Linked DNA regions of Homo sapiens: region 2 is linked to region 1. Evidence: promoter capture Hi-C in human tissues and cell types (Jung and others, 2019). All regions are on one chromosome and are shown on one strand. Each heading gives the region's core, a stretch centred on a gene start or on the middle of the fragment in contact. The rest is flanking DNA. Distances are from core to core; before and after follow the strand shown. Region 1 holds the start of TEAD4 (TEA domain transcription factor 4). Region 2 overlaps CACNA1C (calcium voltage-gated channel subunit alpha1 C).

The links. Contacts are between HindIII fragments. The study calls those that stand out against the background at their distance.
Region 2: a fragment that was not itself captured here is called in contact with the fragment with the promoter of TEAD4 in region 1 in 1 of the 25 tissues and cell types used here (spleen).

What each region holds. Positions count from the first base shown.
Region 1 is chr12:2,955,717-2,962,848 of GRCh38, reverse strand. It overlaps TEAD4 (TEA domain transcription factor 4), which reads right to left and starts at 3,452. Exons shown (of 13, transcript NM_003213.4): 1 at 3,368-3,452; 2 at 2,809-2,901. It overlaps LOC124902859 (a long non-coding RNA gene), which reads left to right and starts at 2,801. Exons shown (of 2, transcript XR_007063159.1): 1 at 2,801-3,108; 2 at 4,624-5,251. RefSeq lists an enhancer at 2,547-3,282. The HindIII fragment of the contact is 29,957 bases long and covers 1-7,132 here.
Region 2 is chr12:2,680,910-2,688,041 of GRCh38, reverse strand. It overlaps CACNA1C (calcium voltage-gated channel subunit alpha1 C), which reads right to left. Exons shown (of 47, transcript NM_000719.7): 43 at 5,364-5,492; 44 at 2,200-2,306; 45 at 1,773-1,876. All of the region lies in intron 3 of CACNA1C-AS1 (CACNA1C antisense RNA 1), which reads left to right. Among named protein-coding and RNA genes, the nearest start is that of CACNA1C-AS1, 6.7 kb to the left of the region's middle. The HindIII fragment of the contact is 6,250 bases long and covers 1,289-7,132 here.

The DNA of each region.
Region 1 (7,132 bases), core at 2,203-4,702:
GCCACTCACCAGGGTTGCGGCATTAAGCAAGTTACTGTCCCTCTAGGAGCATCAGTTTCCCCATCTTTAAAATGGGAGACTTAGGCCAGGCGCAGTGGCTCACGCCTGTAATCCCAGCACTTTGGGAGGCCGAGGCGGATCACCTGAGGTCAGGAGTTCAAGACCAGCATGGCAAACATGGCGAAATCCCGCCTCTACTAAAAATACAAAAAACGGCTGGGAGTGGTGGCTCATGCCTATAATCTCAGCACTTTAGGAGGCCAAGGTGGGCAGATCACCTGAGGTTGGGAGTTGGAGACCAGCCTGACCAACATGGAGAAACTCCGTCTCCACTAAAAATACAAAATTAGTGGGGCACGGTGGCGCACGCCTATAATTCTAGCTACTTGGGAGGCTGAGGCAGGAGAATCGCTTGAACCCGGGAGGCAGAGGTTGTGGTGAGCCGAGATCGCACCATCGCACTCCAGCCTAGGCAACAAGAGCGAAACTCCATCTCAAAAAATATATATATATATTTATATTTATATATATATTTATATATTTATATTTATATATATAAATAAATATATATAAATATATATATATGAAACTAGCCGGCCGGGAGGCTGAGGCAGGAGAATCGCTTGAACCCAGGAGGCGGAGGTTGCAGTGAGCCAAGATCATGCCACTGTACTACTGCCTAGGCGACAGAGCGAGACTCCGTCTCAAAAATAAATAAAATAAAATAAAATAAAAATAAAGTAAAATAAAATAAAATGGGGGACTTAGATGCTGACATTAGGGTATCTAATAATGTTCAGCAAGCTCACCCTGGGGCCAAGGCAAAACTGGAATCAGAAAATAGAAGCTGGCACTCTGTTCTCTGGTGACAAAGCCCTGTCTGTCCCCCTCCCTCCTGACCTGGGCCACTAGGACCCTGGATTCCTAAGGACGCGGAACACAGCGTAGGGCCTGGCTCACAGTAAATGCTCGATTCATGTTTGCTAAATAAACATGATAGACAGGGCAAGGTTTCTCAAATGGTGCTCAGAGAAACACTAATTCAAAAAACACTAATCCCTAGGAAAAAGGGGTTCTTACTGAAATAAGCGAAGGAAACACTGGATACAACAGCTATCCTATGGAGTCCATGGGATGTGCCAGGCACTGTGCTGCTGGGTGGGGGCTCTGCAGACATCGACTTTTCACAAGAAACTTTCTGGACAGAAAAGCTCCGCTCGTATTACCCACCAGGAAACAGCCTGAGAGCCTTAAAGGTAGTGAGAGACTCAGGATTTGTACCCTGGTCTGCCTGACCCCAAACCTGTGCCCTTTCCACTCCATCAGTGCTGCTTTTAGACCAGTCGCACACCAGGCCGAAGAGGTGAGAGGGTGAGGTGTTTCCCACAAGAACATCCACATCCTCAGGATGGATGGAGGAGCAAGGACGAGAACCCCCAACCCCCGAGACAGTTTCTGGCTCCTTCCTTCCAAGAAGCCCTACACATGATATCCACGTTGAAGCCCTCATGCAACAAGCTACTCATTCCTCTTCTCAAAGGAAGTGCTGAGTGTCTGGCAAGTTGGAAAGAATGAGGGATTCTTCTACTGGGTTACCTGGTCAGCTCCGAGGAGAGTTAAACCAGGAAAAGTAGTTCAGGCTGGTATACCTCCCTGTTTGTCCTTGAGGGCAACTTAAAAGCACTATTTACACAAGTCTCCAGATTCAAAACTGTCTCCTTTTCCCGGGGATCCACCCCGACAAACCTTCCCAAATCTCACCCGCCCATCCCATCCCCCAAAGGCAAAGATCTCAACTTCCTTCAGCCTCCTACCAGCTTTTTGACCTATTCCAGGCAAGCACAAGACCCTCGCCCTGAGAAAGTCAGCCTCCTGGCTCCAAGAGGCAGGTGGAGCCAGCTTCCTTCCAGCTCTGCCCGGTCCAGGGGAAACGGAGCCTGGAGGCCACACACTCCAAAACCACAGTCAAATTATCCCTGCACTCAGGCAACCAGAGACACTGACTCTTGCCCACGGCTATGTAGGGAGGAAGAACAGTCCTAGCCAGAACCAACATCCTCGAAGAGAAACACATACTCAAGAGACGTGGCATCACACACCTACTCAGAGATACTCACTTTCAGACAGCCCCTTCTCACGCAGACATATACACACACTCTGTCACTCACGTTCAACACAAACAAATACGCCCACTGGAAGCCAAGGTGAGCCACACGTGAACAGACATCACCCACACAGAGACTCAAAGCGAGGGGGACTCGCAGTCAGGTGTCACACAGACTCAGCACAGACGCAGTCAGTCCGCGGGGCCTCAAGTGCCTCAGCACAACGGGGGAAATGTTCACTTTGGGGTTTGAAAGTTCTGCTCCCTGGATCGATCCACTAGTCCCCATCAGGAAACACAGCAGCTTCCCAAGCCCTGAGGTGTAGGACCTTTTGCAGGGGTCCCCCGACTTTCGCATCGCCTTTGCACTTAAAACAGGCAGTCCGCTTACCTCCAGGTCTCTCCCTTCCAGGCTCGAAAAGGGCCCAGCAGAAAAGAGGCATGGGTGCTGGGTCTCTTCTGTTGCCGATGCTCTCGGTTCTGCCTCTCCGGTCCTTTCCACACCGGCCTCCCTTTCCCCCAAAGTCCCGAGTGTCCACCCCCCTTACCCGCCCCTGGAGCCGCTTCGCCTCCAGCAGCCTCAGTCGCGCCGCCTCCACGTGCCTCGCTCTTCCCAGTCTCGTCCCGGGAGGGAGCTCCGCACGCACCGCGCAGACTCCTGCCCTCCGGCAAAGTCCTACCAAGTCCCCGCGCCCCAGCCTTACCGGTCCCAGGGTGCGGGAAGGTGGGATGGGTGCGCTAAGCCAGTTCCAAGGAGTCCGCCCCGAGCGCCAACTCTTCCGGCCGCGGCGATCGTTCTGCGGGGACGACAGGGCGTCAGCGCGCAGAGCCGGGCTCCGGCCGGGGCCGACGGGCGGCGCAGTGAAGGCGGGGCCGCGGGGCCAAGCCCACCCCGCGCCGACCGGCCCCGGTGCGCCCAGCGGAGCGGAGCGGAGCGCGCGGAGGGAGGAGTTTTCCCAGAATGGGACTGACGGGAAAACACGGGGATCCCTATTCCTGGAGGAGTGAGTCAACCGGGAGCGAGGAGGGGAGCGCGGGGCGGACAGGAGGGAAGCGGGAGAGGGGCAGCGAGCAGCGCCGGAGCGCGGAGGGAAGCCAGAGGTCGGGACGGAGCGCGTCGGAGCGCAGAGGTCCAAGGCGGGAACGCGGGCGGCGGAAAGAAAAGAGCAGCCGAGCACGCGGCGCGAGCGGTCGGCTGCGGCGGCGTGGGGCGCGCGGCCCGTGAGGGCGCCGGCGGGTGCGGCGGGCGCGGGCGCCTCTCACCTGGCGGGACGCGGCGGCGCCGGAGCTGCGGCCCTCCCGCCCCCTGGCCTCGAGTGTGCGAGGAGGACGCTGGAATGCGCGGAATGAGGGCTGGAATGAGATGCGCGCCGCGGCGGGAGGGAGGGAGCCGGAGGGAGTGGCGGCGGGGCCACCGGCACCTCGGGGAGGAGACTGCGCCGCGCGCGGGCGGGCGAGGGGCCGGGCCGCCGGGGCGGGGCGGGGCCGGGCCGGGCCGGGGCGGGCGGCGGGGGAGGGGGCCGAGGGACGGCGGGGACCCCTCCACCCGGGCCTCGGCTGCGGCCCCCACGCCCACTAGCCCTTCGATCTCTCCGCTCCGACTGTTTGGCTGCTCGTTGCGCGCCCCGCGCCCTCCCCTCCTGGCGGGGTCCCGACTCCCTTTCCCAGGAGCCGAGAGCCTTCCTCTTCGCCGGGGTGGGGCTGTCCCGGGGGCGGGGGGGTGGACGGGGCCCAGACTCCCGCCCCGCCACCCGGCGTCCCTCCGCACGAGTCCCTGGGAGGCCGGGGAAGGGGCGGGCTCCCGGCGCGCAGGAAGGGCTGCTCCCTTCCTGCGGCTCCCACCAAAGGACACTTGCTCCGGGGAACCAGGAAGCAGGAACTCGCGGGCTCCATTCCCAGATCCGCTGCCAGTGCCCCCTCGCTTGCCCTCCCCGGCTTTAGCTCTTTCCGTTTTTCTCTCCTGCCCCTTGGGCATCTGTAAAACCGCCACTACGAGTAAACCACATGGGAGAAAGGGCACTCGGTTTGAAGTCCATGTGGCATGCCATGGGACGCCTTCTGGGCTCAGTGACTCAATGAATATTCATCTAAGATGTGTGATGAGTCCAGATACTGTGAAGATCAGGATCAGCCGTCAGCACCTGCCCTCAAAGAGCTCAGAGTTTAGCTGGGGAGGCCTCGGTGTATACTGCCATCGGTGAGAGTCTGGACTTCAGACACACATGCCCAGGAGTCTCTTATTGGGGCAGGAGGTGCTGGAAACACGCTGGGCTCCTTGTTTGGAGACGCTTAGGACAAACGGGCTTAAAGCAGTGTGCTGGCAGGTAGCGCCATCATCTACCTGGCCAGGAGACTGAAACCAAAGGACTTTTGGCTTTTTCCAAAAATCAAATCCAACCTTTTCTGGGGCATTATCACTTAGCCTTGTGTTGGGTGGTTGTCTAGATCTTATCTCCCTTGCCAAACAGAAACTTCCTTGAAGACAGAGTAATGTCTGATTTATCTTATCTTTCACACAGATCCAGCCTGGTGCCTGGGATAGGGAAGTGCATGATAAATGCTGCATAAATGAAAAACAATTGCTACCGTGGAAGATATTGAAAGGAAAGTGCTATCGATGCCAAAGTTGTTTCCAAGAGAGGTATTCCAAAAGTGTTTCAAGCAATGACTGAGCTAAGCATCCAGTCCTGCAAGGTGAAGGCGTTGAAGACGCAGCCCTCATTTGAATAGATGAATTGTGGTATTCTTGTTAAATAATGAATCATATCAAGGCTTGGTCACACCTCATGCACATGAAAAGACCAAAACGCAAGGCAGCATATCAGCGCCACGTGAAGTACACACTAAGCACCAACTATTTAATTCAGCAATCATGGGGGGCCCGGTGGCTCACGCCTGTCATCTTAGCAATTTGGGAGGCCGAGGCAGGTGGATCGCTTGAGCCCAGGAGTTCGAGATCAGCCTGGGCATCATGGTGGCCTGCACCTGTAGTCCCAGCTACTCAGGAGGCTGAGGTGGGAGGATAGTTTGACCCCAGAAAGTTGAGGCTGCAGTGAGCCGTGAATGCACCACTACACACCAGCCTGGATGACAGAGCGAAACCCTGTCTCAAAGTAATTAATAATAATTATATTAATTCAGCAATCATTGGAGTGTTTGTTGACTTTGACACCGCACTAAGGGAAGGAGTAGGTCCCTTTCCTCAAGTAGTTCCAGTCTAGGTGAGAAGACAGACAATTATGCAAAGTTCAATGGGAACCCAAGGGAAGGAACAGTGAAATCCAATTACAGTGCATTTGATCTAGCTCTTGAGGATAAATGAGGGTTTGCCAAACTGAGACTGGAAACCCCATTTAAGACACATGGAATAGCACCTACAAAGGTGAGGCAGCCAGTCTGCTGGTGTGTTTAGCGAAGCTATGTAAACTGGTGTGGCTGGAGAATAGAGATGTGGATAATAAGATTGAAGGAAGTGGATACCAGACTTTGAAGGTCATTGCGTGCCATGCTGAAGAGTTAGGCATCAAAAAAGACACAAGTGTGACTTAATCAGCAGCACCATCAAGAAGACCGTCTTGCAACAGTCTTGCAGTTGAACTGGAGACTCGGGGTGCCCTAAAACTCAAGCAGTGGTCCTGAGGTTGAGGAGGAGGGGAAGGAGCTAGGAAACGGTTCAGATCATTTGGCTGTGTAGTGAGAGAGAAAACAAAAATCGCTAACCTTTAACAGCTGAACAATGGTTGGTGTCAGTAAGTGAGATAAGAATTCAGGGCTGGGCACAGTGGCTCATACCTGTAATCCCAGCACTTTGGGAGGCTGAGGTGGGTGGATCACGAGGTCAGGAGTTCCAGACCAGCCTGACCAACATGGAGAAACCCCATCTCTACTAAAAATACAATATTAGCTGGGCGTGGTGGTGCATGCCTGTAATCCCAGCTACTCGGGAGGCTGAGGCAGGAGAATCACTTGAACCCAGGAGGTGGAGGTTGCAGTGAGCTGAGATCACGACATTGCACTGCAGCCTGGGCAAAAAGAATGAAACTCCGTCTCAAAAAAAAAAAAAAGAAAGAAAGAAATTCAAGCAAAAGGGGAGTGGGGTGAGGTCGGAGGGGAATCCAGCCAGGTTCAGGGGACGGAGAGGAAAGCAGGACAGAGTCCAGAGTAGAAACAGGAAAGCAACCCTAGTGTCACGGTTAGGGTAGACTGCTGACAACGAACTTGGAGATCTTTATTCCCTCTAAGTCTTAACTATCCAAGACCATCAGTGATCCAAGCTGGGAAGGTGTGTCTTCAGGATCTTGACTTTCTGGCCCATACCCTTATAGTCTCCTGGAGAGCTCTGGAGCTTTGGGGACCTCAGGCTTGGAGCTGTTGAGGAATGTCTAGGTAAAGGAAAGTTAACAGATGTACAAATTCTGAAGAGTTAAAGGCAAGGTGATTTTACCCACACATCAGCCCTTCCCAGGGATGTTTACATTTCTTAAGGGACAGGACCCTAATTCACTGACCCTCAGGAATGAGTCTTTTGGTGGAAATATTTCAGCTGTCTGGATCCTACAAATGGATCCTCACTCAAGCTTGATGATGGACTGTGCAGGAGGAGGAGAGTAAGGGTGTGGGCAGGGCTGGGTGGTTTCATGTAGGGGTATTTGTGTTGGCTATATTCCAAAGTCAAAGTTAAAAATCAATTAATTGGGCACAGTGGCTCACATCAGTAATCCCAGTACTTTGGGAGGCCGAGGTTGGAGGATCTCTTCAGCCCAGGAGTTTGAGACCAGCCTGAGCAATATAATGAGACCTTACCTCTACCAAATAAATAAATAAATAAAAATTAGCTGGGCATAGTAGCACACACCTCTGGTCCCAGCTACTTGGGAGGCTGAAGTGGGAGGCTTGTTTGAGCTCGGGAGGTCAAGGCTGCAGTGAGTCGTGACCTCGCCACTGCATTCCAGCCTGGGCGACAGAGCAAGACGTTGTCTCAGAAAAAATAAATAAAATAATATAAAATAAACCAGACACATTCATGAT
Region 2 (7,132 bases), core at 3,164-5,663, 280 kb after region 1:
CCCTGTGGGGCTGGTGTGAGGCTCAAGCGCAATGAGGTCTGTGAAGAAGCGCTGTGCACCTCACAAAGAGTTGGGAAAACCAGTATTTGTGGTTTTAGTTCTCACAGTTAATGGGGCCATTCATAATGCCCTGCCAGTCTCTAGCTCAGGTTGTCTTTGAGCCATTGTTAAATCCGGTGCTGTATTGTGATTAAAAGATTCAGGGCTGGGAGCAGTGGCTCATGCCTGTAATCCCAGGACTTTGGGAGGCCAAGGCGGGCAGATCACCTGAGGTCGGGAGTTCAAGACCAGCCTGACCAACACGGAGTAACCCAGTCTCTACTACAAATGCAAAATTAGCCAGGCATGGTGGTGCATGCCTGTAATCCCAGCTACTTGGGAGGCTGAGGCAGGAGAATCACTTGAACCCGGGAGGTGGAGGTTGTGGTGAGCCGAGATCGTGCCATTGCACTCCAGCCTGGGCAACAAGAGCAAAACTCTGTCTCAAAAAAAAAAAAAAAAAAGTCACACGGTACGCCCTCTGTCCCTGAATATTCTTGAGCATCCTGAGGGTAGGGACCAGGCCTGTCTGGCTGTTGCCATGACAACCTGCCAGGGCAGAGGCTCTGCAGGGTGAGCTGCTCTGATGGGATGTGCTCCCGGGAGAGAGCGACACTGTGGTGGGGAAAGACCACCTCTAGGGTCACAGAGTACAGGAGGAGAAAGAGATGAAGAGGAGAGTTTCGTGCCTACCAGTACGACAAGAACAGATAGGTGAAATCGACTTCTAGAAATCTTTTAAGATAGCACACACAGTGTCCCCACATCCTTCCACCTCCTGCCCCTGCCCATGGTGGTCCTCAGCCTGGGGCTCCTGGGTCCCTGGGAATCTGAGAAAAGTGTAAGGCCATATTCATTATTTCAGAAAGCCCAGTGGAAGACAACACCACACAGGCTAAGAAAACCTGTTTATTTTTTGGAGCTGAAGTACTATCAACTCAGCCAGGCCACACTGGCCATCTCATGCTGATTATGACTTTTGATTGGCAGTTGAATGCCTTTGGGTACAAAGCATAGGTCTATTTAAAACATAGGTCCATGCTATAAAAGAGTATAACTTTAATAAGGTCAGAATGTTGGGAAACCCAGGTTTAGACCTCAGTTTGCCTGGGGTTAATAGACTGGCCTTAGATAACACTGAAGTTCAAAGATACTAAGGCATGTTTGGTCCTGGCATCTTGGATTTCACTGTCTCAGCTGGAGTCAGCCATGCCAAGAGACATTTCATTTATGGAATCTCCCTGGACCTGCTTCCCACGGATGTCATTCCCTACTCTTGACCATGTTGCTGGTGGGTTCTTTAATCACTTCTTTATGTCACTGGATGGATTTTTGTGTGGCAAAATTTCCAGGTATATTCAAACTCTAGGTACAAGTACATCTTCCTGAGTGCCCTGAGGCATAGGCCAGTGTCAGAGGCGTCAGTGGCATCTGTGGCAGCCTAAGAAGAAAGCTCAGGTGGAACCTGCAGCTGTGGGTCCTCAGGATCACACAAAGAGCTCCTGTGCACCAGCACTTCCTAGGCCCCCACCTGCGATGCTGCAGACCTTGCCGTGGCCCTCACCTGCACAGGAGTGTGAAGCCCTACAGGGATGGCTCTTAGGGCAGGGGCAGGACGTGCCAGCCATCTGAGACAGGCAAGACCCACTGAAGTCTTCAGGATTTGTCCGTCACCCTGGGGACTGTCTGGCCTGCTGGCAGGTGACAGTGGCCTGTCCAAAAGTGTGAGCTACCTGATGATGAACCAGATGCAAGGGCAGGACTGTCTTCTGAGAGATGTCTCCCCCTCGGTCCTTCTGTCGCTTCAGACATTCCAGGTGGAAGGAGGCCCTTCGACCTGCAAAGCCAGCCAGAGAGCCACCATCAGGGCAGGAAAACAGGGCACTGGCCTGTGACAGTTTACACCCTGGTGGGGTGCCAGGAGCAGTAACTATGGCCCGAGACGCTCCTCCTTTCCCCTCCCCTCGTCTGAGACGTATTCTGGTGTCCAGGGCTCATCCCTGCACACCCTGCCTTTGGAATGTTGTCTCCTTGCTTTGGAAATGCCCCACTGTGTGGGGCTGATTTGAGGCAGGCCACAACGATTTCCCAATCATCCCTGACCAGTGTTCTCTAGGGAGTAACCGCCGACCACATCCAGAGAGCGAGCGGTGCATTTACCTAGTGAGGCAGAGCGGAGGAAACCCCTCTTCGGAGATTGCCGGATGTCCCTCTTGTCCTCCTCTGGGAGCGTCAGTTGCCGATTTTCGTCATCCTGGTAGGAGAGCCTGGAACAGAGAGCTCATGGGGCTTGTTCCTGGAGGCTGAGAAGTGGCCACCCACAGGGACAGCTGCACCCCCGGAAAGCACTTTGCTCTGATCCTTAGTGAAGGGACGCACACTTTGTGCTTACATGCAGGTTTGGGGAATTGCCACCCCAAGAAGTTCTGGCCTGCCCCTGACGTCTTCCAGGCCTGCTCAGTGGGAATGGCCAGCTCCTCACCCGCAGCCTGTCTCATAAGCCTGCAGTTCTGACTTGGGGCAGTGAAGGCACTCTGGGGTCAAAGGTGTTGAGAAAGCGGAAAGAATCCTAGGCCCATGAAGTTCTTTTGGGGAATGGCCTTGGCTCCCGTGTTTGCATGAGCTGATGCTGTTTTCCCCAGTGACCCTCAACTTTCACCCAAACTTATGCCCGTCCCCCGATTTCTCCCGCCCTGCCACCCCCTCATCAGCAAGAGCACATAAGCAGCTGCCTACAACCACTCTACGGTCACTCAGTAGGTGAACAGCAGGGCTGTGAGGGACCTCATGGGGCATCTAGTCTATGGCTTCCAGGCCTTTGATGGAAACTCGATGAGAAGTAGATTTGACAGCTTCTCATCATGCACAGACACACCTGATGGAATGAAACCTCATAGCCTTTGGTTACCCTCGGTGCATGCGTTGCACCCTGGTGAGTCCCAGTCCACTTTAGTCTGTTCTATTTTTATTAAAATTTTGATTCACAATCTCTGCTGGGTCAGCCTGCAGTTCAAGAAGCACAGCTGCATTCCAACCTCATTCCCAGATGAGACCACTGACTCACTGGTCCCTGGTGCCACCCCACACCTCTGAGGGTGACTCCATGCCTGCTCATGGTACAGCACAGAGACTTGGATGATTTATAGATGTGCAGGAAGGCTGGTAGAGTGCAGACCGCAGTATTTATACCTTCAAGACTAGCTCTTACTCTCAGCTAGCTAAGGCCTCCCTATTGTATTTTCTTCTTATGCAAATCACCCTGGCTCTTGCAGATCCAGCTTCCATTTCACCTTGTGCGTGGTACCAGTTCAGGTCACCCTGCCCTCAACTTTCTCTGAACGCCTGTACCCCTGGGGGTTGTACCACTCTGGGGGTAGTGAGAAACTCTGTGTTATCTTCCTCTCCTGAGACCCTCTTAGTTTCCTAGTTTGTGGAATTTCCTTGAGGATGGAGACTGGGTTCTTAACAACCTAGCAGAGTGCCTGGTGCACCAAGCACTCTAGAATAACCGAAATAGTTTAAAATATATGCTCTTCCTGATTTCTAGGGTAGGTGGTCAGGCATTCGTTTGTATTCTCTAAGAATCAATTTAGAGACAGTTATCTCATAAGGAGCTTCAGGTATTTCCCTTTTTTATATTGACCGTGTTTCACTGAGTCAGAAAAGTAGAAGGCCTGTCACCCCCACCGTCCCATTTTGCTGATGGGGACACGAAGGCACAGGGCAGTTGAGTGATTTGTCAAGTGCCGCTGGTTGGGACTCTTTCCATGCTTTTCCTTACTCACTCGATTCTTCTTTCTATGCTGGGGAAAAGGAGGTGCTTCTGCTACTCTTCCCATCCAGTTCCCGAGCAGAAAGCACTGGACCCCAGGAAGCCGCATGCTGTGCTGGCCTGGCTGCCATTCTCCCCACACTCCTCAGGGTGGGGCACCTGGTGTCCCCTCCCACCACCTCCAGCCACACCTTTCCTGTCTTCAAAAGCCTGCAAGGCTAGTCCTTCCTCACTCTGAAGTCCTTTCAGGAACTGAATGGACTGACATGCTGGGAGGGGTCGGTGAGGGCTTCCCTCCCGCCCTGGGCCCCCGTGGGGCTCCTCCCTGTCTGCATCGGCAGCTCCAGGGTTCCCTGGCGGGGCTGAGAGAGGACACACCCTGCATCGTGCCTGGCCACGCTTCACTGTGCTGCCGTTCCAGAGTGGGACAGTGGCTCCCAGCAGGTGGCACAGCCCCCCAGCATCCCAGGTTCTTGACATGCCTGCCCTCCAGCTCAGAAAATAATAGAGAAGTGGGAGCTTCTCTCTAAACCCCTGGAAAAGTGTCCATCCAAGGAGCAGGCACACCTGCCGCTGGCCTGCCTGTCCCTCCAGAGGGCCCATTTTCAAGTGGCTGCACGCAAGCCCATGGGACCCAGGCATTACCCCCTGGGGAAAACCCCATGCCTCAATTTCCCTTTCTACAAAATTGAAATGACATATGCCCTCTCTGTCTCAGAGGCCTGTTGTGAGTCATGTATACAGTAACAGATGAGACAGGGCTTTGAGGGTGAAAAGAGCCAGAAAAGCTTCGGAAACACTGTGTCTCAAACTTCTGTGGATGTCACTCTGTGTCTCAAACTTCTGTGGATGTGACTCAGAGTCATAAAGATGTTTCTCAAGGAGACCCCCAGATAGCCACATCTGTTGGCAATTAAGCAAGTGTTTCCCAGCACAGCGCTTACCTTTGTGACGTTTGACGCATTCTGATAGTTTCTGATATTGTGCTGTGCTGCACCTGCTTTTAAGGGCTAGTCATTAGTGACCAAATGGATGTCACCACCTTCTAAAGGATCTAGAACTGCAGCTAAAAATACTCTAAGAATGGCAGCAAGGACAAAAATCTCAGGCCTGGCTTTGCCACCAGTGCCCTCTTCTGGGCAGCTTCATTATAAGCAGTGTCTTGAAACACTTGTTTAATTATCTATATATGTATGTGCATACTGAGTCTCACCAGAAAATATATTTATGACTGTGTCTTACAGCCTACAATGTTTATAAAACAATGTTCAGAAATTTTCCTGGCGAGGAAACCCCAAGCTAAAAAGGGCATCGTGTATGTGTGTGTTGTGTGTGTCTGTGTGTGTGTGTGGTGTGTGTGTGTTTGTGTGTGTTGTGTGTTGGGGGGCTCCCATTTCACTGAGGAGATGAAAGAGGCGGTGCAGATGTTTTCTCTGTGATCTCCTCTCCTCCTGCAATCAGCCCCAGAGGAGGGATCTCAGGGACCTGCCTCTGCCTCCCCACATTTGTTCCCACACTTGGGTCAGCCTCAGCAGAGGGCAGCAGAGCTCACATCTCTGTGGAGAGCAGGCTGGGCTCACTGCAGGCCTCCGTGTCATGGTTCATCTTCACTTCATAGGTCTCATCCTGAGACGTCTCCTCCTGACCCGCCATGGCTGCCTGGCTCTCCCGGGAGTGGCACCTACAATATCCAAGATGAAGAAAAACATCAGAAACTGCCAACCTTCCTCCACTTCCTTCAGCAAGTAAAGCATCACACACGCACACACATGCAGGTGTACACACGTGCACAAACACAAGCACACACACGTGAACAGGCATACAGTTGCTGGTGCTTTGTTCTCCTGTGATTGCTGATGGATCCATAGAAGTGTTCAGATTAGGGTGAGGGTCCCATTTGGGAGAAGGATGTCTGCTGTGGATCCAGGAGTCCTGACCCCAATCCACTTACCCTCTGGTCCAAGTCACTTGGTCCACCTCATGCCTCAGTTTCCCTATGAAATTGGAATGACATATGCCCTGCCTAACTTAGAGGCTGCCCCCCACTCACCTCCAGCTATGACACCTGGGTCTTTGGCATTTGGCATAGCTGAGAAGTCCTTGGCCTCTTATTTTGATGGTGCCCTTGATTCTGACACTGGCACCCTGGGGTAAAGGCACAGAGAGGAAGCCTCACCTAGAGGGGTTTGCTCTCCTGAGCAGAAGGCAGTGAGCCTGAGTCCCTGCTGAGCCTGAATCCCTCCTGAGCTCCAGATCCTCACACATCGGAACGTGCCTTTCCCTGCTGGGACAGGGTCAGGTCATCTTTAGCTCTGGACCAAGGCCTCTTCCTTTTCCTGTCTGAGCTCAGCTCAGTGCCTCCCTTTGTCTTGCTTTCTATAGACCTTGCATGCTGGGCCCACTTTATCCTCAGACCCCTGAGGGCATCAGAGAAAGATCCTGGTCCATCCTCTCAGAGCCGAGTGCTAAATCAGTGCCCTGGCTCTGAGCATCCCAGGCAGGGTAGAAGCAATTCTCTCTCTCGAGGAGGAGGACTGCAGACTGCCACCCGCCCCGCAGTGGAAGGAAAGATGAGAGGTGGGAGCTCCAGGAGGACTGGGAGGGGAGGGAGGTGGAGTGGGCTTTGGTGAAGCACGGAGGGAGGAGCTGGAGACGCAGAGCAGCAGCAGGCAGGCAGCAGCACTTTTGGGGGCCACCGGGCACAGGACGTGCTGGCCCATCCTCAGCACAAGCAATGCTGGCACTAGAGCTGCCGTTAGCCTTGAGCTGTGACACGGGGACAAGGGAGCTGGGACGTGGGCTATGCTCCTCCTCTTCACCAAGCTGAAGCTTGATGCCCTGTGTGTTGTTTGTACCATCTGCAGTGGGCAGAGGGAACCGACATTTCATGAGCACCGACTGTGTGCTGGGCACTGTGCCGGGTGCTTTGCATGTATTTTGCTATGTGGAGAGATATATCTGTGGGGACAAGGAAATCCCCTGGGGTCTCCTCCCCCAGCTCCTCTAAACATCCCTCTCCCCTTATGTCACAGAGAACAAAGCTTCACATGAAAATGCCCTTAGAGGGTGGGGAATTAGTTCACCCTGAGATGCTAAAGACGGACGTGGAGCCCTCCTTAAGCAGAAGCTTCATGAGGCCAGAGGGGAGAAGGGGGTATGGGGACCCAGTACTTGGGTCCTCAAAGGCCGTGGAAGGGGAGTGAGGTTGCAGAGAAGGATGAGGCCCCCACAACAGGTGCAGGCCCCCAAGACTAGATGCCTAGATTAGATCCTCTCCTATGCAAAGCCAGCCCTTCAGGCCGGCACATAAAATCCAGTGCC